2 separate regions of the Homo sapiens genome follow, and region 2 is linked to region 1. The links are contacts of gene promoters, found by promoter capture Hi-C in blood cells and fetal thymus (Javierre and others, 2016). All regions are on one chromosome and are shown on one strand. Each heading gives the region's core, a stretch centred on a gene start or on the middle of the fragment in contact. The rest is flanking DNA. Distances are from core to core; before and after follow the strand shown. Region 1 holds the start of TEX35 (testis expressed 35). Region 2 overlaps RASAL2 (RAS protein activator like 2).

Region 1 (4,712 bases), core at 1,755-4,254:
AAAACTGGATATAAATTTTCCAAAGAAACAACATAATAGGATTATGATTCCAGCCAAGGTCTGATACACTATGATAAAAATGATCAGAAATTGCATAGTAATCAGTGTGCCAATGATAAAAGCTATTTCTACTCTGCTCGGAGTAAAGCTTTCCAAGGTGTCTATAAATCAGTCAAGTAGGATGACACAGGAATCAATCATATGAGATCTCTAAAAATGTCATGTAAGAGGATCTCATGTAAGATCGTCTCTGGCTGAGGGCAGCCACCCAGATACTGCAGCCTGTTGGGATGTAAACAGCCAGGGCATCCTAAGTGTGAGTCGTCTAGGTCACATGTATTGAGCCGTGTCTGTTTGAGTTTGACTGGACAGCAAAGCCTGTGGGATTCTGGGTCTTTGTGAAATGTTCCACCCTAATCAAAGGACTTTAGAACATTGGGCCCCCAGTGGTCGAATAGGCCCCTCAGCACGCATGATGTTCTCTTCATGTTCTCTGGGCCTTGACGCAGGGAGTGGCTGAGCCTGGACCTCATCATGGGCCAGACCCAGAATCACAAAATGCCAAACTCAGAGGCTTAAAACCATTTTAAAATTCCCCCCGACCCCAGCCTCCCCTCACAACACTGTATCCTTAAAACTGAAAAAAAAAAAGCAGGACCCTTGTAAAGAAAATGAAACCCAAATGATATCAACTTGGAGAACAGAGACAGGTGGCTGCTTCTTTCTGTCTGTTGTGAATATTCCTTTTCCCCCAAACTCCGATGGAGCAGCAGTGGGCTCTATGCTGCTTGCCCTGGTACAGAGGGGTTTTGCCCTGAAGGGGGATTAGGAAAAGCGTGTCTGGCGTTCTTCAAGTAAGAACGTCCTATGGCTTACCTAGAACAAAGTCACACCACAGCAATACCAACACTGCAACACTGCTTCAACCTCGTTTCTCTTGCAGGTGCAAAAGCTTCTTAAAAGAATATGAGAATCATTATTCAGACTGGGCATGGTGGCTCATGCTTGCAATCCTAGCACTCTGGGAGGCCGAGGTGGGAGGATCCCTTGAGCTCAGGAGTTGGAGATCAGCCTGAGCAACATAGTGAGACCTTGTCTCCACAAAAAAATTTTAAAAATTAGCTGGGAGTGGGGTGGCGCATGCCTGTGGTCCCAGCTACACAGGATGCTGAGGCAGGAGAATTGCTTGAGTCCAGGGGTTCGAGACTGCAATGATCCATGATCATACCACTGCACTCCAGCCTGGGAGAAAGAGCAAGATCCTGTCTCTTCATAAATAAATAATCAGTATTCAGGTTCGCCACGTGGATTCCCCCAGCCCCGCCAGAATATATCGATAAAACAATGGTGTACAATGTTTGAGAACATGAATAGTAAACGCTGTGAGAAGGCACAAGCCCAGAGCTGTGGCTCTGTAGTTAAAATTCTGCCCAAATGATAATACCATGTGTACTTGTGTATATATACATAGATAATTTTTTACTTTATAATGCAGCTTTGCATTGAGACCCTGATTTCTCTTAGACCTTCTTTCCTAATAGATAGGCCAGTGGGCTCATGTGCTATGCTTGGCTAGAAGGCAGCTCATTTAACAACTGCTCAGCCAAGCAAGGGAAGCTCTACTGCAGGTCCAGGAGGCCCCCAAGCCAAAATTAGCAGAAGGAGGTGGGGCACATTTTCACGGGGCTGGTGGATGTTGAGATGGAGTCAGTCATTTTCACTGTAATTCCCTTAGAGGAAGGGCATTCCTACCACGAGGCCATCAGATCTGAGAGGGCTGAATTAAAAGGTCCAAGGAAACTGAAAAGTTCCAGCCCCTCATTTATAAGTGGGGAAAGTGAAGCCTGGGAAGCTGGTGACCACCCCCAACTCCCTCTCCTTCCGCTGATGCAGTGGCAGACACATTCTCCTCTGGCTATGGTGGAGTAAGACCCACAGCTGTCACCAGTGTCAGGGCTGGGAAATCACCACCTAGGAAATGCATCAGAAGTGCTGCAGGTGGCTCCAGAAGTTCCAGTGGCCTCCAGGAAGGATAGTCCCAAGCAGGTGTGTGAAATGGGAGGGTAAGTGTGGTCAGTAGTGGCCTGCATGGGGATGTCATTCACATGCAATTTGCATTAGTTCCTGTACTCCTGTGCTGTCTGTCCTCAGATGTCCATGTTGGCCTTTTCTGTGCAACTAGCAGTTGAAATGAGAGGGAAGAAGGAAGTGAATGACCAGTGATAAGAGGAAAAGAGAAATCAATTTCACCAACCCAGATCCCCAGTGATTTTTTATCCCATGGGGTGCCATGTTCCTCTGACTGTCTACTTTAGCACAAACTATGGCTACCCGCAGAATGGCCTTTTCTTTAGTATTCTTCATTTGCCCGAAAAGCTTCTTATCTTTAGCTTCTTGTCCCAACCCTCTTCCCGGATGATAGAAGAACTAGGAAAAGAGAATTTTTAGGTGGGCAGGGGTCTGGGGGTGGTTGTGGGACAGGGGCAGTGTGAGGTCAGAGGCATCAGAAACCATCCTGCTGAGACTGGCTACCCCACCTCATACAGAGTAACCCAGGTTAAGTGAGACGGTGCATGCACGTTGAACCAGAGAGACTTCATGGCATCCTCCAGCCCAAGGTGGCTTCCGGTCCGAGGTGGGGTCGGTTCGCGCGAGGAGCGCACAGCAGAGGACATGGGCTGTGCGCTCAGAGGAGGAGCTGGCTGTCCCTGGAGGACGTCCTTCTGAGTCAGTAGGTGAGTCCTGCTGCAGAAGGAGCCACTGCTTCTGACGCGTGCCTTGCACTTCGACCGTAGCAGGCCATGATCCTCCTCAGTGTGGACTTTCCTTCTGTTGCAAGAGGGAGGCCTGGTGGGACTCTGAAACCTGGCCTGAACCCCTCATCTCAGTGGCCGAAGCCCCCCAGGCCTGAAGCTGTGGTGACGCTCTGGACCACCATGTGGGTCCTGGCATTGTGACCTCAGCTGTTCCGTACACAAAGGGGTGGTCACCCTGCCCTCACCTTGACCTGTAAGTTGCCTAGGACAGTGGCCTGGTCCCAGGGGCTGTTGTGGGGAGTTGAAGAACACCCTGGCCTCCTCCATCATGTCGGCCAAGAGGGCAGAATTGAAGAAAACACATCTGGTAAAAGAGAGACATTGCTGGACAGTGTGGGTCCTCTCTGAGCTCCTACTGAATGGAGATGGTGTCGGGGCAAGGGATACAGAGAATGCTCGCATGAATCTCTGGTTTTTCTTTCTCTGTACTGAGCATAAAGCAGCCTCTCAGTCTGGAAGGGGTGTGGGATTAATCCCTAGCCTTGGGGGTGGGAAGGAAAGAGGCCTCTGCTGCCTCCCTCTGGGGATGAGGAGCACTGCCAAGGGAGCACTCCCTACTCCAAGACCACTCATGGTTCCACGGCCCATGCCAGGCCTGCCAGGCCCACATCTAACCAGCAGGGCTAAGGCTCAGAATAACCTTATTAGATAAATATAATCATCACGTCGATTTTATAGATGAGGAAATGGGGGCTCAGAGAGGCTAAGCAACTCACCCAAAATAACAGAGATAGTAGAGAGGTCAGCTGAGACTATAGTGCAAATCTGCCTATGGCCAAAGCCCTTGCTCTGGAAACAACACTTCCGGGGCTTGCTTCTAGTTATCTTAAAGTGCTTTCTCCACGCTGGCGCCTCCAGCAGGGAGAGGGCTGCCTGCCAAATAGGCAGACACACGCCCATAGGAAGAGGACAGCACGACAAGATGTGATTTGTTAGGAATCGGATCCGGGTGCTGCGGGGTCTGTGAGCCTGAGCTCAAGCCAGTTGGACAGGCAGGGTTGCATGGTTGTGGGGGGCAGGGGGCAGGGTTCCCGTGCAAGGGCCAGATGTTCTCCTCCCCAATCCTGATGTCTGCCAGCCTGAATCTCAGTCTCCTCTTTTTGCAGAGCAAGAACTACAAGGCAGTTTGCCTGGAATTGAAGCCAGAGCCGACCAAAGTAAGAAGCCCTTTTGAGGCCATGCAGGCAGCCAGGCCTGAGATCCATGGGGAAGTGACCAGGAGTCAGGGGTCATTTGCTGATCCTAGTGGCCAAGATTTGTCCCAGGTGCTGGGGGATGCACTGAGAGTTCTTGCTCTCATAGAACTTCACACTGTAACCAATCAGATACATAAACGAACAAGGACTCATTCAGCAGTGTTACCTGCTCTGCTGGGAATCAAGACAGGGAGACATGTCTGAGTGGCTGCCGTGGAGTGGGTGGTAGGGAAAGGCCTTCCTTTGAGCTGAGAGCTGAAGGACAAGACTCTGGCTTTGCAAAGGCAGAGTAAGAGCCTTCTAGGCAGAGGAGGCAGCATGCACTGAGGCCCAAGGTGGGAATGAGCCTGGCTGTTCAAGGGACAAAAGGAGCTGAGGCCCCGTGGGCCAGCAGGGGAGTGGAACAAGATGAGCTGAAAGAGGGAGGAGGATAGAGGAACCTTCTGCACAGGTGGGGCCACCAGCTTTCCTCTTGCCTTAGCCCTAAGGGAGGAACAGAAACACAGGGGGATCTCTTCTGCCTCTGCACTTCCACCGCCCATCTGCAATTCCCAAAGGTCTGTGTTCCTGTTTCAATCCACAGACATTTGATTACAAAGCAGTTAAACAAGAAGGGCGGTTTACCAAAGCAGGAGTGACACAGGACCTAAAGGTGAGTGCGTGAACTTGGAGGCATGTCTATATTCCAAACCACGTGAGT
Region 2 (4,042 bases), core at 864-3,363, 190 kb before region 1:
GGCTAGAGTGCAGTGGCGCATGGCATGATCATAGCTCACTGCAGCCTTGACCTCCTAGGCTCAAGTGATCCTCCCCTGCCTCAGCCTCCCTAGTAGCTGGGACTACAGGCATGTGCCACCAGAACCAGATAATTTTTTTATTTAAAAAAATTTTTGTAGGTCGGGTGCAGTGGCTCACATCTGTAATCCCAGCACTTTGGGAGGCCAAGGCGGGTGGATCACCTGAGGTCAGGAGTTTGAGACCAGCCTGACCAACATGGTGAAACCCCGTCTCTACTAAAAATACAAAATTAGCTGGGTGAGGTGGTGCATGTCTGTAATCCCAACTACTCGGGAGGCTGAGGCAGGAGAATTGCTTGAACCCAGAAGGTGGAGGTTTTGGTGAGCCGAGATCGCGCCATTGCACTCCAGCCTGGGCAACAAGAGCGAAACTCCATCTCAAAAAAAAAAAAAAATTTTTTTTTGGTAGAGATGGGGTCTCACCGTGTTGCCCAGGCTGGTCTCAAACTCCTCACCTCAAGTGATACTCCCACCTCGGCCTCCCAAAGTGCTGGGAATACAGGTACAAGCCACTGCATCTGGCCAAGTTTCATAACTTTAGTCCTCATCACCTTCTAACTCTCTTCGTGGTTTTTAATGATCGACTTCCCTTTAAAGCTTCTCTTTCTTGACTTCTGTGACATTTTTTCCTCTATTGCTTATGTCCTGCCTCACCGTACTTTTTAAAATATTTCCCACTTTTTAAATGCAGATGTCTAAAGGTCTTATCCTTACCCTTTTTCTTTTGCTTTGTCCTTTCTCAGTAGTTGACTTCACCTATATTCATGTTTCCAAATGTCATCCCTGGGCCAGTACCTTTTAAATCTCTATTTTTGGCTTCCTCGTCTCTTCTCAGTTCCAGACCTGAATTCCCAACTGGTCGTCTGTACTAGAATGTTCAAAACTGAAGCCATTATCTTTGATTAGTTTCCCTTCTTTGTTCCTTCCCTCCCCAACAACCTGTTCTCATGTGGTGGTTGGTTCTGTTAATATGACCACCATCCTTCTAGTCATTCTAACTTTACATTACTCTTTTATTTCTACCTAAATATCTGAATAGCTACTCATATATCTTTTCCTGTTTCCATTTTTATCCTTCTGTATTAACTCATTTCACTGCTCTTTTGTCATCTTAGAGCACTAATTGAATCATACTACTTTCCTTGTTTAAACACTTTTACTGTATCTCCACTGATCTATAAGATGAGGTTCAAATTTACAGTGACACTAAACGTCCTATATATTCTGACTGAGAGTTAGCTCTTTAAGATCATCTTTTTTCTTTTTACCCACCACAGGTATGTATTCTGGGTTCTGGCCACATAGGACTGCTTCAGATTCCCTAGGCATTCTCAATACACATGGGCTTTTGTTCACATAGGGCATAAACCTGGAATATCTTGCTCTGTTTTTCCACCTTCATTTCTACCTTCTGTATGTAGAAATCCCATTTATCCTAAGGGACCAATAAGATATTAACTCTTGGCAATCTTTTTCTTCATTCACTAATCAGAATTCATTAGCATTTTTGTTTGTGATAAACAGTACTTTTTGTACTTCTGATATTTGGATGTATGTTCTTATGTTTTCAGTAAGTTGTTGGTATGTGTCATCTTTACTAGATTGGAACCTCTTAGATGGCAAGATTGTATCTTACTCACCTTGGTATCACCATAGCAGGTTGTTTTGTACATAACTGCAGGCTGAGTGAGTGACTGATTGTTGAGCAAATGACTGATATGAGACATACTAGAGAAACTCTTTCTTGACTTTCAGGTGGAGCATGTCAAAGTGAAAAATAATCTTAGATGTGGGTAATTTTTTTTTATCCTGAAGGGAAAACCATACCCACTTGAGAGAAAATCGTTTAGTAATGAAATTAGAGAATTACTAAATATCATTGCACAGCCACAGGACTATAAGCAGTATAATCACAACTATTGGTTTTGATAAATACAAAGTTGGTAAATGCCATTGTCCAAGTTAACAAGTCACAGTATCAAGTGTACTTGGTTGTGAATGTCAGGTCTGAACTCCGTGCTGTTGGTTAATATCATAACCATAGTTGTGTTAGTGAGCAAGATATTTGTGTTTATTTTTAAGATTTTATTAATAGTAAATCACTTTTATTAATTTCTTATATTTATAGAGAATGATAAGAGAAAATGAAGTATCTTAATGAAAGGAAATGACCATTTTATCCTTTTTGCTGCATTTCACAAAATGAATATTAGGTTATTTATAACAAAAACATGTATTAGGTTGTTAAGAGATTAATTAGTATATAAAAACCACACAAGAAGATTTAGCAGTTATTTCACAGATAGAGGGTTTACTTTTTCAGGAAAGAAAATGCATACCCGTAACTAGAACACATTCTGTCTGGAAGGATACCTTTACCAGTGACTGTGCTGGGTAGTGGAAAATGGCACCAGCTTTGAAGTTGTCTTAACCTGGATTCAAATTCCATATGCTCTCATCATTAACTCTGAACCTCAGCTTCCTTGTTGGATGAGATTTTTATTATGATTCAAAAGAAGAATGCAGGAGCAATAACATAAACTTTGATTTGAGCCAAACTTCAGTTCGCTCTGACTCATAAAATCATGGAACCAGTGAGATAATAGACTAGGTGTTATGTTTCTCATCTTGCTTGGACAGGTTTAAGCTATTAAAGAAATTTGAAGCTGGTCATAGTAGCTCACTTCTGTAATCCCAACTACTTGGGAGGCTAAGGTGGGAGGATTGCTTTGGTCCAGGATTTTGAGGCTGCAGATCACACCACTGCACTCCAGCCTGGGTGACAGAGCAAGACTCGATCTCTAGGAAAAAAAAAAAAAGAAAAGAAATTTGAGGTGTGACATCTTAAAGCATTCTATCTCTGTATCTTGTGACTTTGCCCATTTGTTTTTTTCCATTTTCACTTGCACTTCCTTTCTTCTAAAGTATAGTCATAATTCACCAGTCTGTTATGTAATGAAGGTAGAAAGATGGGAGTGGGCTTGTTTACAATGCATCTTGAAATATATTTGGAGACTTGACCTAGGCCCTTGACTGCCCAGAACCTTTTCTGAAAGGAAAAATAAGTAATTCAGATAAATTGAGCAAAATTAGCTAAATATCGTTTAATTGTACATGTGCATATGGCTCTCTTTTTAGGTAGCCCAAGATTGGCTATGCTGTTTACCAAAGCCTTTTAAGTTTACATTTCAAGCAGAAGGATTTATAAATCAGATTGGTGGAAAATCTAGTTTAATTTTATGTGCGAAACAGACTCTAACTGCCTCAAGGAATGAAGTTTTTGGCTTGTTATGACCCCCTTGGCACCCACCTGCCAACTGGTCTCTCTAGTAACAATGCTTAACCAAGAAAGCTCCCTAGTTTCTCATAAAGCTGTTGTGTTCATTGGATTGTTCTGGTTACTTTTATTTCTGTAAAATTTAAAGCCTATTTTCTTTTCCTGTTGTCTTCAGATATTTGCATGTTAACATGTTTCCTCATTTTGATTGATATTTAATATAGCACAACAGGAAGCTTCCATTCATTTCATTTTTTAAAAAAATTCTCCTTACAACATTCCTATTTTGTCTGTGTTTGACGTGTTCTTTCTAACTCTGAAGAGTAGAGAATAACATAGGAAAAATTCAAGGTAGAAAATAGTGTCTAGAACATGAATTCACAGGATGAGAAGGAAGTAAAAGCGAGTGAATTAGAAAGAGAACTAGTAATAGAGGAAAGATAATTATCAGTTCATTTTTTCCTCTTAAAGGCCTTTAGGTTTTTTCCCTCCCACTTTAATCAGAGTAGTGCCACCGAAGAGTCAAAAACTTATTTAAACAAATCTTTTGTAATTAATTTTTAAAGGTAGGAATTGTAGAGAAGTATTCATTCAGATATATGTATTAGGAACTAGATGAGCTAGGGATAGAGCTAATGAGATAATACATTGGGTGTGACTTAAAATAAGAAGAGAAAAAAATACATTTAAAAGCAGAATATCATT

The links. Contacts are between HindIII fragments. The CHiCAGO score rates a contact against its expected background, and 5 or more counts as called.
Region 2: a fragment that was not itself captured here is called in contact with the fragment with the promoter of TEX35 in region 1 in 3 of 17 cell types (endothelial precursors, naive B cells and total B cells); the score reaches 9.0 in endothelial precursors.

Annotation. Positions count from the first base shown.
Region 1 is chr1:178,510,105-178,514,816 of GRCh38, forward strand. It overlaps TEX35 (testis expressed 35), which reads left to right and starts at 3,005. Exons shown (of 9, transcript NM_032126.5): 1 at 3,005-3,123; 2 at 3,923-3,973; 3 at 4,596-4,664. The coding sequence starts at 3,085. It overlaps LOC101928866 (a long non-coding RNA gene), which reads right to left and starts at 2,946. Exons shown (of 6, transcript XR_001738307.2): 1 at 2,538-2,946; 2 at 1,972-2,178; 3 at 877-955. The HindIII fragment of the contact is 3,272 bases long and covers 2,375-4,712 here.
Region 2 is chr1:178,321,549-178,325,590 of GRCh38, forward strand. The region is part of intron 3 of RASAL2 (RAS protein activator like 2); the gene reads left to right. LOC105371629 (a long non-coding RNA gene) reads right to left here. Exons shown (of 3, transcript XR_922306.3): 3 at 2,540-2,861. Among named protein-coding and RNA genes, the nearest start is that of CLEC20A, 170 kb to the right of the region's middle. The HindIII fragment of the contact is 2,916 bases long and covers 656-3,571 here.